2 separate regions of the Homo sapiens genome follow, and region 1 is linked to region 2. The links are contacts of gene promoters, found by promoter capture Hi-C in human tissues and cell types (Jung and others, 2019). All regions are on one chromosome and are shown on one strand. Each heading gives the region's core, a stretch centred on a gene start or on the middle of the fragment in contact. The rest is flanking DNA. Distances are from core to core; before and after follow the strand shown.

Evidence for each region. The method cuts DNA at HindIII sites, captures the fragments that hold promoters and counts their contacts. A contact is called where the count stands out against the background at its distance.
Region 1: a fragment that was not itself captured here is called in contact with the fragment with the promoter of TMEM11 in region 2 in 3 of the 25 tissues and cell types used here (adrenal gland, dorsolateral prefrontal cortex and stomach).

Annotation. Positions count from the first base shown.
Region 1 is chr17:21,453,511-21,458,472 of GRCh38, reverse strand. It overlaps LOC124903951 (a long non-coding RNA gene), which reads right to left and starts at 1,278. Exons shown (of 2, transcript XR_007065664.1): 1 at 773-1,278. RefSeq lists a silencer at 1,359-1,438. The HindIII fragment of the contact is 8,684 bases long and covers 1-4,962 here.
Region 2 is chr17:21,212,770-21,217,701 of GRCh38, reverse strand. TMEM11 (transmembrane protein 11) reads left to right here and starts at 3,541. Exons shown (of 2, transcript NM_003876.3): 1 at 3,541-3,611. The coding sequence starts at 3,550. It overlaps TMEM11-DT (TMEM11 divergent transcript), which reads right to left and starts at 3,377. Exons shown (of 2, transcript NR_184102.1): 1 at 3,252-3,377. RefSeq lists enhancers at 2,560-2,769, 3,540-3,639 and silencers at 2,930-3,199, 3,320-3,459. The HindIII fragment of the contact is 15,648 bases long and covers 1-4,764 here.

The DNA.
Region 1 (4,962 bases), core at 1,612-4,111, 240 kb before region 2:
TCCATGTCCCTGCCTCAGTTTACCTCCCTTCCCCTCTCCTCACCTCCCTTGGATGCACCTGACCTCTCCCGCCTCCCTCCCCTTCATTCATGCCCTTCCCTTCTTCGCTCTCCAGTTCCATCTCCTCCAACATGCTCCCCTCCCCCTTTCCTTCAGCCTCTGTTGACCTCTCCACCCTCCCGCAGTCCCCTGCCCTCTCCTGCTAAGGCCATCCCTCCCAGCCATCCCCGCCCTCCCTACGTCATCTCAGTTGGCTCCATGTCCCTCAGCTCCCATCCCCTCCTTCTTCCCTGCCCTGAGAGCCATCCGGGTTTCCTTTCCAGTCTCCCTCTGCTCCTGTGCTTTCTTCCCCTTCCCTCACTTCCCCTGCTCTGTCTTCTCCTCAGTTCCCCGCCCTCCCTCTCTGCACCTGCCCAGTTTCCCCCATCTCCCCTCCATGCTCCCTTCCTCCCCAGCTCCTGAGTTGGACCACCTCAGCTCAGCGCCCTACTTCCTGTGCCTGCCCCTGCCTGCTGCCCACCATCCCTGCACACAGCTCACTCCTCCCTCTGGCCCTCCTGCTGAGCAGGCGGCTCCCCCACTGCCCTGGGCCTGCCCACCTTCCCCAGCCCCCGCAGTCAAGGCTCTCCAACTCCACACCACCGGGGTGAGGGCAGAGAGGCACCCTCTCCAGGGCTGCGCTTCCTCCAGCAGGTACCAGCTCCTCCCCCTCAACTAAGCTCCATGGCCCATCCCTGCCCTGGGGGCGACACCACAGGGACCTTCCGCTCACCTTGCCAGGCTTTTCAGAGGCCTCGGAGCTGTGGTCAGGCAGGCGAATGGGGAGCAAGCCAGGGGTTACAGATCCAGAGCCTAGGGCAGTCCAGGCAGGGGGGGCTGTGGTCCCCTGTGACCACTTCTGTGACCTTGCCACTTGAATCCTCCAGGGCCTGTGTCCTCACCTCCAACGTGAAGATCAGGCTGGGCCATTATTGCAGAGCTGTGCTGAGTGTTGAAGAAGGTGCGTGTCACGCGTTATTATAGGTAGCTGGTGTTTCCTGAGCGTTTGGAAACGACGCTTTGTAAAATACTGTGAACTAACCGCAGAGCTGGGCACAGCATGCTTCATGATCTCATTTTATACTGACGTGTTTAGTCATCGTGCTGTCAAGTATTCTCCAGCCACATCATTTGTTAGTAGTTTGACCTGCATAGGAGGGCACTGTCACCCTCCCTCCTGCTGTGCTGATTTCAGCTGGAGCCGCCAGGCCAGGCCGCCTCACGCGCCCCCTGCTGACTAACCCGGGAACTGCCCGCAGCCTGCTCTGAGCTTTCTGATGTGGGCGGGACCGGGCCGGGCAGGGCCAGGCGCCTGCGGGGAGGGGCGGGGCCCGGCGACTGAGGGGAGGGGCGGGGCCAGGCGCCTGCGGGAGGAGACCTGGTCCAGGATCAAGGAGTCGCTCAGTGCAGGACCGGCCCAGAGTTCACATCCCTGGCTTGATCTACAGGTAAATTTTTTTTGTATACTTTAAGTTCTAGGGTACAGGTGCACAACGTGCAGGTTTGTTACATAGGTATACATGTGCCATGTTGGCTTGCTGCACCCATAAACTCGTCATTTACATTAGGTATTTCTCCTAATGCTTTCCCTCCCCCACTCCCCCACCTCCCCTACTGGCCCTGGTGTGTGATGTTCCCCGCCCTGTGTCCAAGTGTTCTCATTGTTCAGTTCCCACTTATGAGTGAGAACATGCGGTGTTTGGTTTTCTGTCCTTGTGATAGTTTGCTGAGAAAGATGGTTTCCAGTTTAATCCATGTCCCTGCAATGGACATGAATTCATCTTTTTTATGGCTGCATAGTATTCCGTGGTGTATATATGCCACATTTTCTTAATCTACTCTGTTATTGATGGACATTTGGGTTGGTTCCAAGTCTTTGCTATTGTGAATAGTGCCGCAATAAACATATGGACCTACACGTAAACTAACTGGTGTGTGTCAGACATAGATACAGGCCAAGAAGAAAAGTCAAAGTAGGCAGGGGCAGCTCCAGGACAGTGATGACCTGGGTCGCTTCATTCTGTGCCTGGGGAAGAACCAAAGCCACTTGGAGATTAACGCCATGACAAAAACGAGGGACGACGTGTGTGCAGTTGTGGGTTTCATGTTTACTTTCCACGACTCTAGAGGACTTGCCCACCTGTTCATACATAAACCAGTGCCCAGGGCCCCGCTGCCCCGTGAGGGCTCCATCTCCCCCATCACCCCACCCCCTGCTTAGCTCCTGGCCCACCCCAACCATCCCTTAGTTGATGAGTTGGTGAAGCTGCCCCCTTTTTCCTCCCTATACCCTCTCTTCTCTACCCCAGGTCCTGCTGGGCCTCAGTCTTTGGTCTCTCTGCCCCACCTGCCCCAGCACCCCCCGGTCTCTTGGGTCCTCACCTGCATGCTCCCGAGCTCACCTCCAAGTTGATCTGCATTTCACAAGGCTGGCCCCCTGCAGCCCGCCCCCTCACCTGAGGCACCAGGACCATCCACTTCCTCCACTCTCCTCACACCCCCAAAGTGACTCAGGGCTCCCCTGAACAGCTGGGCTGGAGTCCTCCCACCAGCTCCCTCGGTTATACCTGCTCCCGTTCCCTCAGACCCAGCCCCCCAGGTCTCCAGACCCATTCATGGACGTGGCCTCCTAGGCCTCTCAACACTCACCTCCCAGCAACCCCTCAGCCCTGCCCTCCCCAGGCACCAACTTGGGACTCCCACAGCGGCAGAGACACCTATTCCCACTTGGGCTCATGTCACCACAGCTCCCTGGGGATGCTGAGCCTATGAGCCCAATCTTGCTCCATCCCTCCAGTTCCTTTCTCCAATCCAAGTTCTCTCAGACCTGCAGTGTCACCCCTGGAAGCCATCTGGACACCCAAGGCACTGCCTAATGGAGATGGCCATACTCTTCCCTGTAGGGATGGACAAGGGACACCTGCAGTGTGCAGGTCACAATCTGAACCTTTGGAATGGTGTGGCAGGCCGTGCCCTGCCAGGGCCCCCACCAGGGCCCCTGAATGGCTGCTCCCCATCAGTCACAAGGAAGACCCTTGATGATCATCCCCACTGCCTCTGAGATGGGCCCGGAAAGGCATGAGCTTCTCAAGCACCTGGGTCACCATCTGGGGAATGGCAGTCATGATCAAGTCAATCCCTTGTGCCCCAGAGACACTGTAACTCCCCAGTAGCATCCCAGAGGGACTGAGGCCACCCTGGGCAACAGAGCAAGGTTCCATCTCTACAAAAAATAAAAATGTAGCCGGGAGTGGTGGCGCACACCTGTAGTCACAGCTACTCATGAGGCTGAGGCGGGTGGATTACTTGAGGCCAGGAGTTCAAGGCTGCAGTGAGCTGTCATTTCGCTACTTCAGCCTGGGTGACAAATAGGAAGGGGAGGGGGAGGGGAAGAGAGGGAGAGGGGAGGGAAGGGAGAGAGAGAAGGAGAAGAGGGGAGGGGAGGGAGGGAGAAGGAGAGGAGGGGAGGGAGAAGAGGAGGAAGAAGAAGAAAGAAGGAAGAATCCCGGAGGGGAAAGAGCCACCAAGGGTATCCCCACACTCTGTGCAAGCGTCTCTCTGCCTGAAACATACATGTGTGAAACTCACTGTTGGCACAATCAAGATGGAAAATTAGACCTGAGAGCAGCTTCTGTGGTCTTTGAGAGGGACCCAGGTGATGAACAGAAGCAGGGAGGCTCCATGGAAGGGAGAAACCCAAGTAGATGGCCTTCTCTGTGGCTTCCAGCCTGGGGCAAAGGGTGGTCAGTCTCAAGATACCCAGTAGGGGAAGGGCTCATGTGGGAAAAGGGAAATGGAAAATCCTGCCGCCTGCACAGAATGGGGAAATCACCCGAGACTCCAAAGTGTCATTACTGTGATGTCTGTAGCATAACATCCACATCGCTGTAACATCCACAGGGGCCTCCTTAACACCATCAGGCTCTGGAATCGGAGAGCAGAAGAAGCTTCACAGCTGGAGCTGAAGTGGGTCTGAGTACAGACTAATCTCTATTGTGAGGCTTACTATTATCCCTCCTTTAGGGACATGGTCATTTTAAAATATTTTATTTTGAAATAATTATAGAACTTATAGAAAACTGCAACGGCAGCATAATGGGTGCCTGCTCCCTTCCCCCAGCTCCCCCAGGGCTTCTAGTTTTGCCATGTGTCCCCACCACCATGATGGACTCGGCCTCACTGACCAGCCCCAGTGGACGGCACCAAGGGCAGGCAGGATCACACACTCTTTGCTCGAAACACTCAGGGATCCTTCCTGCCCCACACACCCTCTCCATGCACCCACATTCTCTGCCCAAGGGTGGCCTGGCCCCCTATCCCCTGCATGTGGCTCCTTCCACTCAGGCTGTGGATCGATCTCATGTATTGCAAATGTGGTTTAAACTTTGAGAACAGCAATTCTGGTTTGTAGGAAAAAGTGAGGATCTAGGCCTTTGCAGTCATGCACATGTTCATATTTTAAATACAGGCCAATGAGCCGCTGCCTAGTGTGCCTACCAGAGACACACCTGTTGTTAAACTACAGCTGGATTTACTGTTCCATTCTGCAAGAATATGCCATGGCGCTGTGGAGGGTGCAGTGAGAGGCTTGGAAGAGCCTTGCCGCAGGCTGTGTGTGTGTGCCAGCTGGCCAGGGGTGGACTAACGGGAGAGGGGGCTGGCTCTGAGTTGAGCACTGTCAGGAAGCAGGAGGAGGTAGGTATACACTGGAAGCTTCATAAACCTCATCCCCCGGGAGGCCTGACAAGGGCAGGACAGGCTGTCACCAAGGCCAAAGCAGCAGTCACCATGTGGGCTGGGAGGGGACACGGCTGGCACTCCTGGCCTGAGAGATGCTCCCATCTGTCTGTATTCAGACAGGATGCTGGAGTGGCTTGTCTTTGTCTTGATCAGGACCATCTGGGGTCTTGCCTGCTGCTGCTG
Region 2 (4,932 bases), core at 2,292-4,791:
ACTGCAGTCTCAAACTCCTGGGCTCAAGAGATCCTCTCACCTCAGCCTCTCCAGTAGCTAGGACTACAGGCACGTGCCACCATACTTAGTTAATGTTTAAATTTTTTGTAGAGTCAAGGTCTCCCCATGTTGCCCAGGCTGGCCTCAAACTCCTGGACTCAAGCTGTCCTCCTTCCTCAGCCTCCTAAAGTGCTGGGGTTACAGGTGTGAGCCATTGTGCCCAGCCTTCAAATGTTACCTTTTTAGAGTGACCTCTTACCACCTGTGATCTCCAAGTCACTCCATTATATCATCCTGTTCCTTTTCTTCTTGGTACTCCTCTCTGAAAATATTTACTTAAGTTGTTTATCCCATTGGAATGTAAAGCCCGTTAAGACCCAGGAACAGTGTTTGTCTTACTAAACACCGTATCTCTGTGCCCAAGAGTACCTGCAGAGTATGCCTTCAACGATTTAAGAATGAATGAATGAAAAGTGTAGTAAGAGAAGTAGCAGATTACTTTGAGCACCAGCGAGGACATGCCTTTCCACTGGCTGCCTTCATACAGCAGGACAGAGGGCTCACGGGAGTCTCCACCGCAGGACAGCCCCCAGGAACTAATTCCCACCACTCAGGCTGTGCCCTCCAAAGGTGCTCAGCTAATACATACTGAGTCAATCAGGCTGCCTATGAACCTTCCAGACAACCTCCGTGCATTAACAGTAATCAGGAGGAAACACCGTGAGGATCTTAGACCAAGTTGGCAGATTAGAAGCAGACGGTCATTCAGAAGTTAAGGGGAGAGTAAAAAGCTGGAGAAATGGGATGTTCATTAGGGCCACAGTTGTTTCAGCATTTACATTTACTCTATGCACTAGACCTACCTCCAGTGCTTCTGGAGAGGCACAATGGCAGAGTGTAATCTCTGTAACTGGACAGTCTGGGCTCAAATCCTAGCACTTTCCTGGCTGGCAGTGTGAGCAAGTCACTCAGGTCGTCTGTAAGTTGATTTCCTCATTTACAAAATGAGATTGTTGATTAAAAAAAAAAGTGATACTATTATTAAGACAGAGTCTTGCTCTGTCATCCATTCTGGAGTGCAGTCGTGCGATCTCAGCTCACTGTAACCTCCACCTCCCGGGTTCAAATGATTCTCATGCCTCAGCCTCCCGAGTAGCTGGGATTACAGGCGTGTGCCACGATGCCCGGCTAATTTTTGTATTTTTAGTACAGACGAGGTGTCACCATGCTGGCCAGGCCGGTCTTGAACTCCTGACCTCAGGTGATCCACCCGCCTTGGCCTCCCAAAGTGCTGGGATTACAGGCGTGAGCTAACGCACCTGGCCAACAGTATCACTTTTATACAGTTGTTGTGAAAATCAAGATGTAGATCACTTAAAATATAAAACAGCACTTGGCCTCCATACACGTATCACCTCATGAAATACCGCAATCCTCTGAGGGGAGATACTATCATCCCATGATACAAACCAGGCAGCTGAGAAACAGAAGTTACACAAGCAGCCCCTGAGCCAGAAGTGCGTTCTAGAATCCCTAGTATACCCTCTGAATCACCACACTGATACAAAGAAAAGACAGCCATATCCGCAGTGTCATACCATGGAACTGTTAAGAGGTCTCCAGCATGAACTACGCTGACACTTGGAGGCAGGGCTGTATGACTCAACAGGAAGGCCAGGTACTTTTTAGAGACCAGACAGGTACAAGGTCTTGAAGGACAAAAGTTGGCTGGGAGAGCTGGGCACCGTGGCTCATGCCTGTAAATCCCAGCACTTTGGGAGGCTGAGGGGGATGGATCATGAGGTCAGGAGTTGGACACCAGCCTGACCAACATGGTGAAACCCCGTCTCTACTAAAAATACAAAAATTAGCTGGGTGTGGTGGCACCACCTGTAATCCCAGGTACTCAGGAGGCTGAGGTAGGAGAATTGCTTGAACCTGGGAGGCGGAGGTTGCAGTGAGCCAAGATCGCACCACTGCACTCAAGCCTGGGCGACAGAGCAAGACTCTGTCTCAAAAAAAAAAAAAAAAGTTGGCTGGGAGGTAAAAGCATTTTAGGTAAAGCATAGAACATCTACGTATCTGCAAACCCTCTGAATTTACTAGCCTGGCAAGTTCCAGACGGGAAAGGTAGGCAGTTGAATTTGGAGAGCTAGGCAACTTCCAAACTAAGGAGGGGCTTCTTGATTGTGCTAAGGAATTTGAATCACACACTGTAGGTGATGAGGGACGGTGAGAGGATTGCAAGCAGCTAAAACTGTGGTAGAATGTCAGCTGGAAGGAAATCGAAAGGAATCCTCAACAAGGAGAGGGTCGCCTTTCCGTCTGCTGGCCCTCCTGCTGTGGCCTGCGGCGGGGTGGGAAGGGGGGTTCCACTACACAGAAGTGTGACGCGCAGGGCTGGGCTTCTTCTAGGCTGAATTCGGGACAGATTTTCGCATTTGTTTTGCTCAAGTATTTATGGGACCAATTAATATGTTTAGCAACGTTGTCTGTGGGAGCAGTAGAGGAACTGAGAAGTTCACAAACTGTAAGAGATCCTCCAAAGAGTCCACAGGTCTGAGGCAGCAGCACCTGGGAATCTCTGGGCTCCAGTTAGTCCTTCCTGACTTTGACTCGTTACAGCAGTGTCCAGACAGGGATATGTCGGGTCCTGTGGCAGGGTTCCCGTCAGGTGGGATGGTTTAGCCCCGCATCTGCCTTCAAAGATCCCGAGATTATGCCGTCGCAGCGGCCAGGGCAGGAGTGGGTGCGTGGCAGGGACTGAGTCTAAGAGGCCTGGAGGCCCTGTCTAAAACAGAGCTGTCGCTGGGCCCTCTCGCCTTCAAGCAGTTATCATACAGCTATTCCCCTTTCTTGTTTTCAGACCCTCTCCTCTAACAGCCTGCACCTGCAAGCAGGGACCTCCGTGGCAGCAGGGACAGCGTGTCTGTCTCGGCCTCCAAAGTACCCCGGAGTCTAAGAGAACTGGGGGAGGATGGTGCGGGAGCAGCGCCCGCCTCCAAGGAGGGCCCGGGCGGCGCCTCCCGCCCCTCGGTGACCTTATGGGCCAAGGCTGTGAAGGGCAGGCGTGGCGACGCGGAGGGGCCCGGCGCTAGTAGCCCGCAGACAGCGCGGCGGCCCCCAGCGGGAGAGGCAGCCTGGCGGCCAGGACAGCGCGGCCGGGCGCCTCCGCGCAGTGCTCTGGGAGTTGTAGGCACTTGCCTCTCCTCTCTCCTTCAGCTACTGGCTCTCGAAACTCAAGGACCTACCGGTGGGTGGGCGCCTGTGACTCCCAGGCTGCGAACGCCGGGAACTCAGTTTCTTCAGAAATGCTCGAACCAGGACGGCTCCTGGAGTCCTCGCGCCCTCGCAGAAGGACTACGGGCCCCGGCGACCCCGGGGGCGGGGCTTCCGGCGCGCTGCCTTGTGGGCACGGTAGTTCCGCCGGGTCTGGCTTCCGCCTGCCGAGCGGCCCCGGACCGCAGGCCGGACTACACTTCCCGTCGGCCCGCCTGCTCTCCCGATGCCGCCTTGGCGCGAGACGTTGGCAAGCAGAGTGTCTCCAAGATGGCCGCTTGGGGAAGGAGGCGTCTTGGCCCGGGCAGCAGTGGCGGCAGCGCCCGAGAGAGGTGAGATCCAAGGGCTTGTTGCCCCCAGTGCAGGCGGCTCAGCGGCCGGAGAGCCCAGCGCGGCCTCCGAGGGCTGCAGCAGCCTTCCTTCCCTGGTTTCCCCGCGCTCCCCCTACCCTCGCCGGGCATACTGGGTTCCAGTTCCGGAGGATCCGGGATCCGGGTGGGAGCGAGGTCGAAGGCCTCGGCGGAGAGCTTAGGGGAAGGGGCGTTAGCCGGGCTGAGTAAGGTAGGCAGCGGCCATGCGGGGCGGGGCCCGAGGCCGGGCCGTGCTGAAAGGAACTGGCGCCCAGCGCAGGCCTCAGGGACCCGCCTAGCTGCCCGCGGGCCGATCGGCTGCTGAAGCACCCTTCCCGCCTGGGCACGCGCGTGGCCATCTCGGCCGCGGCCCCAGACGTGTAGAGGAAGGCAGGGCCCCCGGAGAGAGAAAGAAGGGGAAGCCTTCACAGAGCAGGCCGGCCGCGGCAGGGGTAGTTTGATCTGCACGTTTACTAGGGAGCTTTAGCTCCCGCCAGATGTGTCTCTTCCGAGCCCAGAGCCGGCCACTTCCTCGAGGGAAGATTCTGAAGACTTTTGGATGGTTCTGTGCAAGCGCTCCTGCCGTAGAAGTCCTTTAAAGTGACCTTTCCTAATGAATGGTGTGTGGGCAGGGAGCTAGGAGCGTGTTTCTTCCAACAGGGACCTCCATTTGAATAACTGATTTCTAGAAGATGAGATTGGAGTAGTTTCCGTGTTTCATGTTCAAGTTGCAGTTTTTGCATCTGGGAAGCAGTTTCAGCTAGTGGAAACCACTAGAAGCTGTTCAGCCACTAGAAATTTGGGAGAAGATGTATTGGTGGAGCCACCTGGATTAACTGTCCGCTAAAGCTTGATTGTTATAGCAGCGGTCAGCAAAAAAGGAAAAGTTTTTGTTTTGCTGGTTCTCCCCCTCCCCGTCTTTTTGGTGAGGATTGTCTAACAGAAAAGTTATCTTCCTCTCAACTACTCTGCATTATTCCTTTTCTGTGACTGATTCCATCCCGTGTTCATTGCTATTGCTTGCAGATGGCTTTCCCAGCTGGGAAGATTCTTCCTGTTTGGCAGTTGTGATAGAATCCTTTAGCTTGCTTGCACTTTATTCTTTAGCCCAGTTATCCAGCGTTGCCCATTCTGCATTTCCTCTTCCTTGGAAAAGCAGTGGTAAACACACTTTTGTTTTTCTAACTCCCGCCTGGTATTAGATTGGACCATTTAAATAAGTTACCTCAATGGTTTTCAGATGCTCTTAAAAACTAGCAAACATTTTCAAGATATTCAATGCAAACAGTAATACGAAATAACC